Regions from separate parts of the Homo sapiens genome. Here all the other regions are linked to region 3. The links are contacts of gene promoters, found by promoter capture Hi-C in blood cells and fetal thymus (Javierre and others, 2016). All regions are on one chromosome and are shown on one strand. The core of a region is centred on a gene start or on the middle of the fragment in contact, and the rest is flanking DNA. Distances in the headings are between cores, read along the strand shown. Region 1 has its middle 9.8 kb from the start of C9orf72. Region 2 overlaps C9orf72 (C9orf72-SMCR8 complex subunit). Region 3 holds the start of DNAJA1 (DnaJ heat shock protein family (Hsp40) member A1). Region 4 overlaps PLAA (phospholipase A2 activating protein).

The links. Contacts are between HindIII fragments. The CHiCAGO score rates a contact against its expected background, and 5 or more counts as called.
Region 1: a fragment that was not itself captured here is called in contact with the fragment with the promoter of DNAJA1 in region 3 in 2 of 17 cell types (M0 macrophages and naive B cells); the score reaches 13.2 in M0 macrophages.
Region 2: a fragment that was not itself captured here is called in contact with the fragment with the promoter of DNAJA1 in region 3 in 1 of 17 cell types (M0 macrophages); the score reaches 6.2 in M0 macrophages.
Region 4: a contact is called between a fragment that was not itself captured here and the fragment with the promoter of DNAJA1 in region 3, in 1 of 17 cell types (total CD4 T cells). The highest score is 6.6, in total CD4 T cells.

The regions. Positions count from the first base shown.
Region 1 is chr9:27,581,896-27,584,595 of GRCh38, forward strand. No RefSeq gene overlaps it. Among named protein-coding and RNA genes, the nearest start is that of C9orf72, 9.8 kb to the left of the region's middle. The HindIII fragment of the contact is 782 bases long and covers 960-1,741 here.
Region 2 is chr9:27,560,850-27,563,549 of GRCh38, forward strand. C9orf72 (C9orf72-SMCR8 complex subunit) reads right to left here. Exons shown (of 11, transcript NM_018325.5): 4 at 1,532-1,627; 5 at 736-800. Among named protein-coding and RNA genes, the nearest start is that of C9orf72, 11 kb to the right of the region's middle. The HindIII fragment of the contact is 8,318 bases long and covers 1-2,700 here.
Region 3 is chr9:33,023,823-33,026,522 of GRCh38, forward strand. It overlaps DNAJA1 (DnaJ heat shock protein family (Hsp40) member A1), which reads left to right and starts at 1,451. Exons shown (of 9, transcript NM_001539.4): 1 at 1,451-1,561; 2 at 2,653-2,700. The coding sequence starts at 2,663. It also overlaps a transcript of APTX not described here. RefSeq lists enhancers at 291-886, 1,209-1,503, 1,481-2,075, 2,032-2,101 and silencers at 1,362-1,511, 1,792-1,931. The HindIII fragment of the contact is 3,848 bases long and covers 1-2,400 here.
Region 4 is chr9:26,918,798-26,921,497 of GRCh38, forward strand. It overlaps PLAA (phospholipase A2 activating protein), which reads right to left. Exons shown (of 14, transcript NM_001031689.3): 8 at 1,430-1,587; 9 at 513-732. Among named protein-coding and RNA genes, the nearest start is that of PLAA, 27 kb to the right of the region's middle. The HindIII fragment of the contact is 4,870 bases long and covers 1-2,700 here.

The DNA of each region.
Region 1 (2,700 bases), core at 101-2,600, 5.4 Mb before region 3:
CATTAACCTCTATTCCTTCTCTGTTGATTCTCTGCACTTTATAAGCAACAGTTTTGAGTGATCTAAGGCCTGGAATACAGAGTTCTGGGGAGAGGAAGTTCCTAGTTCATTGCAGCCTCAGAAAACACAGAAGAAAGAGAACAAGAAGTAGGAAGATGAGCACGATCTTCTTAAATTTTAGAGAAGACCACTAGCTTATAGAGGAAGAGAGAATTTGAACTAGTACCTTGATAGGTTGGTCATAATTTGATGGAATTTAGATGGAAAGAACAGTGCACAATGATGGTTTTGTTACTGACCTACCATATGCCTGAGTAGTGGGGGACTAGTAGCAGATGAGCCTCAGCACTCTCACAGCAATGGCTCCCCTTCTAGACATACTTCCCAAATCCACTTCAGAATGGTTCCCTGAGCAACTGGCCTAGCTTTACCCCTCTACTTGCAGCTTTCAGCATTATTTTGCATGTATAGTTGTATTTTATTGTAGTTACTGGTATAGTGCTTTGTAAGTAGTTTCTTTAGTTATTTCATGTATGATATGGAAAACTGCTTCTCAACTATGTCACATGCTATTTGAGACCCTGGACTGTAGGCTGACAGTTTATTTGTTAACTCCTTTATTGTTAGCTCATATCAGATGATTAGCAAATGCCACGTAGCTGATTGAAACTTCACTCCAACTACCCAGAATTATTATCCTTGAGTCAGGCTAGTTTTATATATTCATGATGTATTTGGAAACCTTACTAAATATTCTTATTGGTTGTAAATTTAAAAACCACAAACAAAACAAAACAAGAAAGCAACCAAAACACAAAAGAAACAAGTCCTAAACCAAAAAGTTACTAATCATTTCACTCTCATGTTCTTCACCTTTCAGGGGCTTCCCATTTTCTATATGTCAAGGTCCTTGGCATGACTCTCTAGTTTTTCCACAATCTGGCTCCACTTGACTTTCAAGCTTCTCTCTTACCGCCCTTTCCCTTTGATCTTGCAGACGCATGACTGTTTACTGCTCTGTAACCTCTCATATAATTCTCTCTGCCTGAAATGTCCTCACCTCTCCATTTTGTGTGAGCAAACCTTATTAACTGCAGCCATATGCTGCCTCCTCCATGAAGTCTTCCTGGATTTTCCCAGTTTGAATAATTCCATTGTGCACCTTTAACCTCCACTAGTAATACAAAAACCAAACTCTTTGTATTTACATTTTACATTTTGGGGGCAAATAATGGTAATATAATATTAATAGAACTAATAATTTGAAACTATTAGAGTTGTTTGCAGTGACACAATAGGGTTTAATGGCATGAGTTTTGGAGTCAAACCAACCTAGTCTTGAATTCTGGCTCAATCACTTTGCATCCTTGGGGGAGTTACTTAACATTTTTGAGCCTCAATTTCCTCCTCTTGAAAATGGAATTGCTTTGAGGATTAAATGAGGTTACCATCATAAAGGGTTTATCTTGATACCTGCCCCATGGTAATTGCTCAGTAAGTTTAGCTACTATTATCACATGGTAGACGCTCAATTTGTGTTTGTTAATAAATGTATTCCCAACCCCTAGTTTATAGATGAAGAGATTGAAAGGGAAAGGGAAAGAGATTTACTCGAGGTGACACCTTTAGTTTGGGGCAGATCTGTAACTAACACTTTCATATGCCAGCAACCAGGTAAGAGCTTTTTTTTTTTTTAAATCAACATAAGGTGTGTATACGTCTTTCTCATCACTAGACTGAAAGCTTCCGGAGGGCAGGGAACTTGTCTGATTCACTTTCGTCTGCGCTTTTCCTCTAAGCACAGTAATTGCCTATGTTTTAGGTCTTTAATAAATGTTGGATGTAATTTAATTTAAGAAAGTTCCCATTAGAAACAAAGAAAGTTCCCATTAGAAACAAGAATAAATAAAATGTATTTAATCAATGTGTAGATTAAAATTTCACTAAGCTCTAAATATGGCACACAATCAAGTGATGTTAATAAAGAAAAGCTTAATTTGAACATTATTGCATTTTTAGGTGACAAAACAACAGGCCACTTCATCATCAAGATTTCTAGAAAGAGCAGTTATTTCATACATTGCCAAGCAAAAAGAATAAGAGATTCAAACACATATTTTTAACCTGCAGTTGCACCCACGGCATTTAACATCAGTTTAAAATTTGAATACAAACAAATATAAAGTATTGCCTTTACAGAAGTAATGGAATTTGACAAGTTATTATCGTGAAGGATTAATTAGTACCCTGTGAGAACAAAACTGAGTCACAGGTAGTAAGTCTGCTTACAAAAACCTAAGAAGGGATGGATTGTCATGTTATTGTTTTTCATCTCAAATATGTAGAGAGATAGTCACCTTAAATAGCTTGCCTGGGAAATTACAGAATGTCTATTTTGTCCTATTTAAGATTGTGCAAAGTTTCACATAAATTATAGACACAGAGACATGCACAAATAATTTAGTACAGAACAACAAACTAGATGGATAAATAGGAGGTTATTACTTTCAAATTATAGTATTAACTCCCTCAAAATTTATTTTCTTACTTGGAAATGATTTGTTTGCCTGTCCATATTCCATGTGCAGGATATAAAAAGGAAATAGTGCTCAAACATTGCTGATCACCTCTGACGACTATCAGTTGTTTTTACCAAATAGTGCTTTAGAAAAGAATGAAGATGCTGCATGGGAAATGACA
Region 2 (2,700 bases), core at 184-2,683, 5.5 Mb before region 3:
CTTTAAAACAGAATATAAGATAATACATGTAAAGCAACTAGTAAAGGAACTAACATGTAGGCACTCAACAAATACTGGCTATTTCTAGAAGAAATGTAAATAGGAAATGTTAGCTATGAGCTATTATTAAGTGTTTTTATGTTCCAGGCACTGTTCTAAGTGCTTTATATTATTTATCTTACTCAATGCTTATAACAACCCTACACATTAGGTACTATTACTATTATTGCCATTTTACAGATGAGGAAATAGGTGTATAGAGAATTCAGGCACCTTGCCCACGGGTACACAGCATTAATCCAGGGAGTCTGGTTTAAGGGCACAAACTCTTAAGTACTAAACTCCACTGCTGGATGGAAAAAGATCAGTATAAATATGAATAATTTTGTTCTACGCCTAAATAACTTAAGTTCATCTACAGTACAACTTAATATGAAAGGATTCTGTTAGCTTTAATGAGAAGTAAAACAAGAAACCAGAATCAAGCAAGGGGCCATGATTTCTTGTCTGGGATGGAAACTCGGTTTCTTTAAATAGCAAATGGAATAACACCAAATATATATAGAAATATAATGAGTGAAAAATAACACAAATTTAAGCAACAGTTCAAATACGTAATGTCCCTAGAACAATCTAAGTAGACAGTCTGTTATTTTCTTTCTTCCAAATCTTGTCATAGGTGAGCATAAGATGGTATCTGCTTCATCCAGCTTTTATGAAAAGAAAAATTCTTACTTGAGAAGAAAGCCTTCATGACAGCTGTCACCAATATCATCATCATTGAGTACTGTATCAGCTATCTAAAATGCATCAAAAAATAAAAAAATTAGTCTGGCTGTAACATAGTGTTGAAATAACACTTTTAATATACAAGTTTTCGGAAGTCTGGATTCAATATAACACACTGCCTTCATTTCCGAGAATCAAGACTCCCCAAAAAACAATCTCTGTGCACTACCATAAACTTCAGAAGAACAAATGTGAAAGCTGGTCAAGCAGGTTAAACAATTTTTACAAGAACAACTTCCTCTTCTGAGCTGTCAGAATCAGGAGACTAACCTAAATGACAAAATCAGAAAACAACAAGAATAGTTTCCTAAAGGTATCTCTTAACACTCATAGTGTGTGATTCAAAACGTCCTCAACAAATGATTAAGGAAACTAAATTTGTGACTACAAGTAAACTTCCATTAATGGTTACTACTTTGGCACACAGTTTTGTTTCAAAAGACACTACATTAAATATTAATTGCTCCTATAAGAGCTGGGATCCTCCCACTTTTAGGAATTATAAAAGTAATGAAATAAACAAAATGAATTTAATTTTGTCATCACTGATCAAAAATGCCTCTGTTTTGCCATAAAATCCAGGATTTTGTGTGTGCTTATTTGCTAAAGTGGCTAATACTGTATGTGAATAGTATGTATGACAAAGTCCTTACTATTAAAATTAGAATATTAATAATATACATAATAATACTATAACCCCAAAAAACTCATAAAGTGTATAATTGCTCTCATTTAAACTTACATCTATTTCTTCAGGAACACTGTGTGATTTCATAGATGAAAGCAGTTCCATTACAGGAATCACTTCTCCAGTAAGCATTGGAATAATACTCTGACCCTGCACAATAAAGTGACATGAAGTGAAGAAAATCACGTAATATGAGAGAAGCTGGGCAATAAAAAATAAAAATAACATCAAACAATAACATTCTTTGATGAAAATACTTCGTAATTTGTTCAAACACAGTATCAAACAAGTCTACTACATGTCTAAAGGATTTATATGCAATCCAAAGCTCACTTTTATTCTTTCTTTTCTTTTTTTTTTTTTGAGATGGAGTTTTGCTTTCATTGCTCAGGCTGGAGTGCAATGGCGTGATCTCAGCTCACTGCAACCTCTCCTCCCAGGTTCAAGTGACTCTCCTGTCTCATCCTCCCAAGTAGCTGGGACTATAGGTGCCGCCACCATGCCCGGCTGATTTTTGTATTTTTAGTAGAGACGGGGTTTCGCCATGTTGGCCAGGTTGGTGTCAAATTTCTGACCATGCCCGGCCCTAAAGCTCACTTTTATTCTTTAGAGAGTATGGAATCATTGGTTTATCGTTTACTGTTACATGCAATGATTAAGTCATCATGCCTCTTTTAGAAAAGATCTCCTTTAAAATTTGAGATAAAAAAAATTTGTTAAAGGTCATCAATATATTTCATATTTAAAAATGAGGAAAACCAAGCACAAAAAGACTTTGAAATCCTTACCAAATAGGTAAGGAAAACTTGAATCAATACCTAACCTCCATACTCATAAAAGTATAATCTACCCAAATGCAAATCAAAATCAGCACATATATTTTAAGAATCAATAAAACAGAAAAATTCCCTTTAGAGCTATTTCAAGATATTACTACTTATTACATCTTGAAATTGTAATTTTGAAATTTGTAGTCTATAGAATCAAACTGAAAATTCAGTATAACACATCACAAATGTAAAGTGTCTCAAATATGGATGGTCCCTCATTTATTCACTACCACCACCAGTCTCATCAGTTTTGTGACCAACTTGGTTAAGTAAATTTTTTGAGATATAAATGAAATTGTCAAATGACTATGCATTTTTAGCTAAACATATTTTTTAAATCATACATTATTTAAGATGAATTTAATACTAGTTGTTTTTCCTCACTTATTTTAT
Region 3 (2,700 bases), core at 201-2,700:
GCGTAGCATATATACCAACAGACAAAGGCATGCCCTAACTAGCTTTGAAGCCTCACCTCCGGCTATTCTAGCTCCCTTAGCTATGGCTATATCCAATTAGTTGCAATTTCCTAAAAACATCATATTCTTCCACACCTTAGTATAGCCTTCCCCTGTGCTTTGTCCACTGCTCTCCTCCCATTTTCAAAACTCAGCTCAATTGCCACTTTCCCAAAGAAATTCTCTCTGATCTATCAGGTTAATATAGGAGGCTCTCCCCTACTGACTTCTACCTCATGGTTTCTCTGGCAGTCTGTTGACTTGTTTGGCTTCTCACTAAAGTCTAACTGGGGCTTTTCAACTCTGCATCTCCAGTTCTGTTTTTGTTTTAAATCGAGACGGGGTTTCACCATGTTGCTTGGGCTGGTATCAAACTTCTGAGCTCACGCAATCAGCCCACGCTGGCGTCCCAAAGTGCTGGGATTACACACGTGAGCCACCGAGCGTGGCAAACTCCATCTTTCTTGGTGCTAGATACTGACATACCTGCTGTGTCCCTGGATAAAGAAGCGGACCCCAATTCCCATTAAGCCCCCGTGGTACCATTTTCAAGTCCGAGGTCTTACGTTGCAGATTGTACATCCAGGTTCCCTGACCCGTAGGATTTAAAAGTGAGGTCAAATAATTAAACAAATTGTTTTAGTCAGACACTCTTGCGGCTACTCTGTAGCCAAACTGGGTGAAAACCTGACCAGAGGAGTCCACGGCCCTCTGTACATCAAAGACGGTCCAAACGTCTCACTGTTTAGCTCAGTCCCAGACACACTGAGCTCAATCTGCACGAATCAGCGAGGTCCAGGGCAGATAACATGTGTCTAGGGGCCTGGACTTGCACAAAAAGCCTTAACAACTTCACAATTTGATTAATTATGCCGCCTTGGACCACGCGTGAAAAACAGCAAGACCCAAGGCCTATGCTATTGGTCTGGGGACTAGACCCACCTGGCTCAAGCATTTTTTGCTCGCCACGTTCCCAAAAAGAGAAGAGGCGCCCGTAAGAGGGGGGGGGGGGGGGGCAAGACTGTTCCAAGAGCTTTCCCGTTCACACACAGCTCCCGCTGGGTCACTGTACTCGAGCCCTTCCCGCCCTCGCGGGCCCAGGCGGCCACCCCACAGGTTTGGGAACCCTAGGACTTGCAGTGCTCCTGGGCCATGCCCCACCAGCCGGAGACTTCCGCACTCTCAGGCTCGCTGAGTGGAGAAAAGGGCTCCAGAAGATTCCACGAGCGCCGGGAAGCCGCGCTAGCACCAACACCCACAAGGCCTTTCGGCGCAGCTCCTCCCGACCCGTGCGCCCCCGCGCCGTTGCCCAGGTAACGGCGGGGCGGTGGCAGCGGCCGAGAAGGGCGGGACTTCCGGCGGGTGACGCGCCCGGGTTCGGCTACAAAAGAGGACGGCTGCGGCGCGCCGGGCGGAACTTTCCAGAACGCTCGGTGAGAGGCGGAGGAGCGGTAACTACCCCGGCTGCGCACAGCTCGGCGCTCCTTCCCGCTCCCTCACACACCGGCCTCAGCCCGCACCGGTGAGTTTGAGCCCTCGCGCTGCCCCTAGTCCCCTGGCTGGCGCCATTGGCGCCGGGAAACCGATGGAGCCGCGGTCGGGAGGCAGTTGGCCGCGTGGGTAGGACCGCTGTCAGTTCCTGGGCCCACGATTTCCCTTTTGGAGGGCTGGTGTGGTGCCCTGGCAACCCATCCCCGGCACGCACAGTGAATGGGCCCGAGACCTTTCCTAGACCTCCCTCCTTCCCCAGCCTGGGATCTCCAAGGAGCTACTGTCTTCGGCTGCCCCTCCGTGCGCGCCCCCGCGGCCCCCCTCCCCGTCCGTGCTCGCTCGGGGTGGGGGGGGGGAGTGGGGTTGGCGACCCTGCGCACGCGCACAGGGAGGCAGGGGCGAGGGGCTGCGGGGGGAGCCGGGCGGAGACTGCGGCTTTTGGTTTCGCTTTCTCTGTTTCCCCTCCCTTTGTTTGTTGAGGGCTGGGCTTTCCCCACCGCCACTTGGGTCCAGGGTGGGAGGGAGAAAGGAAGGAAATCGGTCAGCGCCAAGTGCAAGGGGAAACCTGGCAGGTAAACTCTGCCAGCCTGAGGGGCGAGAGGGATTCGGCTGGAGAAGCTGTAAGCCGTGGGCGGTGGAGGGCTTGCTGTGTGGAGCCAGTAACCTGTTCTATAAACCACTCCCCCCCACCACTGTGTGCCCAGACGTCTTTTTCTGGAGAGTATATGGAGTTTATCAGATTTGCCAAAGACAGTGATAGTGTAATGACCGGTAGACTGAACATATCAGTGCTTCTTTTGGTTACAACTGTCACCGCCTCTAGGGCAAACGGGAAGAATCCAGATAATAGTTGTGTTATATTAGTATGGAAGCTTTGGTGTAGGAAAATTGGAACCAGCTGCTAGAAGGCGGCTCTCAGATTATTTCCCGATAATGATTATTTGTTTTGTCTGTTCGAGTTTATAGCTGAATTATCGCAGGAATTGTTACCTTTTTGGTGAAATTTAGGGAAGGTGGTGTTCTTATAATCGGATTTTGCAAAGAGATTGCTCGGCCTTAGCTCTCTTTTTTATTAAAAGCTACCAGTTGAAAGCCGGTTAAAGTTGCATTTTCTTATTTCAGGCAGTAGAAGATGGTGAAAGAAACAACTTACTACGATGTTTTGGGGGT
Region 4 (2,700 bases), core at 48-2,547, 6.1 Mb before region 3:
TTAGGATTACAATTTACAGACTGGTATGAGCACCTAACTGCATTTATAACATGAGATACGATGTATACGATGTTACAAACAATTAACTTAAAATGAACGTGTAGAATACACATCACATATAAACTAAAACTACCCATAGGGTTCACTTTTAGATTTGATGCATGACTGACCAATTTAGCCTCATGTGAAAAAAAGATTTACTAAATTTTGCCAAAATATAATTTTTTAAAAGAAACACTATATAAAAGAACTTACAAGTTTATTTTTGTTTCAAATAACTGAAATTCCATTATAGTATGATTGTATTTTTGAAAGACAACAATTTACTATTATTTCTGTAAAATACAGAATTACTTCATCATTTGAGGCTTAAACATATGAATGTGAAGTAAAACCCTGCTGTAGATATTGGTATTTATTGAAAAAGCTAATCACATGACTATTTGAAAACATCAAAAAAATCAATCAACACTAATGGAACTACATAAGACTCAATATAAACACTAACTTACCTGTAAATGGATCTGAAAAGCTGGGATTCCCAAGTCCCAACATTTGACCTTTTGTGTTATCAATAATAAATTTAGCTACTTGATCCAGAAACATAGGATTCAAATCATTCTTCTGTAAGAAGTTGTATGCAGTTAACCAAGGGTCATCACTGGTATTATATGGCAATTTATATGATGGTCCACCTTCATTGACATCAATTGAGAAAACATAATCAAATTCCTAAAGTAGGAATATAAAAAGGAGATACATGCTTATTATCTGTTCACATATATTAATGACATATACAACATAACACAGATGTGTTCTTTAATAATTACAGTACTTAAACTTTCTCCAAAGTGCAGTGCTAAAATCTTCGTTTTTGGCAGATAAAGATTAACAGCCCCCATCTGCATGTGATGCAAAATTAGTATTTCATTAGGGGATGGGGGTGAGGATGAAGGATGGATTACAACTACATATTAACTCTAGAGCCAAAGCAGAGTTTCCAACTGGTTTGATATCAAGATCAAAATTATCAGCTGTTACTGTGCCCTACTCACCAAAACGTGCTGGCATTTTAAGCACTGCCCTGCAGGGTCTCTCATGTCTTGTCAAGTTAAATATAGCCAGGCATGAGGCATTTGATGAAAGGTGGCACAGAAGCTCCCAATCCAAAATGGCTGGGAACAGCTTTTGTATAGAAACTACTACATGACAGACAATTGCTAATTTGTCTCTCAAATGCAGCTCTCACTACATGGAAAGATACTTTTAAAATATCTATTTCAAGACAGGGAAAAAAAAGATTAGTTTCCCACAGTAATGGATTTTTAAATGTCAAAACAAAGGAAATTTTATCACTATGGGGCAAAGGAAACCTTTAATTTGCCTAATATTTAAGACAATAGTAATTAGAAAGTAGAAGTCGACATACTTTCCCTTCATATAAAACTTTTCCAGATGTTTGCTGATTAGCACCAGATGAGCCAACAACATCACCAATTTTTATCCACCTCCCTTCACTAACACTCCACTGATAGGCTTCGACTTTCTCCCCATCTCTGATTAGACGAGTCTGTCCTTCTCTAGTACCTTAAAATAAAAATTTTAAGAATCAAAGGTAGAATGGCAATGTAAAATTGAAAAACATTTAAATAGAAAATTCTTAACATTAAAATTTACACATAAGAGAATATGGATTTTGTTTCAAAATAAAATTGTATCAAATAAAAGATTTAAAAATGTGGCCAAAAGAAAATAACAGTTAAAAGGAAATATTATTAATCAAAGGAAGGTTAACAAAACGTGATTCTACTAGGAAGCAACTGGCCCATCAAAAATAAAACAAGTTTTATTAGTGAATATATCTTCCTAACACATTTCATTCCGTAAATGGCTCTCCATTAATCCAGTGGCTCAAACTGAAAAGTAGAAAAGCCTGATACCTTTCTCTCAACCCCATCGCTCCTTCGGCTACTTCTCAGCACCCCCTTCAGCTACTGCTATCAGCTCATTCTTTAAAATATATCTAGAAAACTGTCTCCTTAATATCTCCATCATCATCCCTTGGTCCAAGCCACCATCATTTCTCAGTTGGGTTGATTCAACGGCCTCTTTCCTGTACTCTTGGCCCCCGACAGTGTATATTCCACCCAGCAACTTCAGGAATTTTTTCAAAAGTTTAAGTAGGTCCTGACACTCTTCTGCTTGAAACCCATCAATGCTTTTCATCTCACTTGGTAAAAGCCTAAACTCTTGAGTAGTGTACAAGACCAAATATAAATTGTCCACACTATCCTACATGACCTTACTTTCTACTATTCCCCCTGTCCCCTCATCTCCCAACTTCAGCCACAGAGCCTTTGTATTAGCTGTTTATTCTGCCTATGATGCTCTTCACACAGATATTGGCAGTATTTGCTCCTTTCCCTCTTTAACAACTTTACACAAATGTCATGTTCTCAACAAGGCCTTCAGTGGCGGAGACAGCTATCCATCCTCCGAAGAATCATGCTCTTCTTCCATTAGATACAGCTGTAGTTGTCTAGCCAGAGACTACATTATCTAGTCCCCTTGCATTGGGCAGTCACATGATGTCACATTACTGAGTAATGGTCAGTGGAATCTGGGTGGATGTGATATATGCCAGTTCTGGCCTAGTCCATCATACTTTAATCTCCCCTCTTACCCCATCTTAATCTGTTT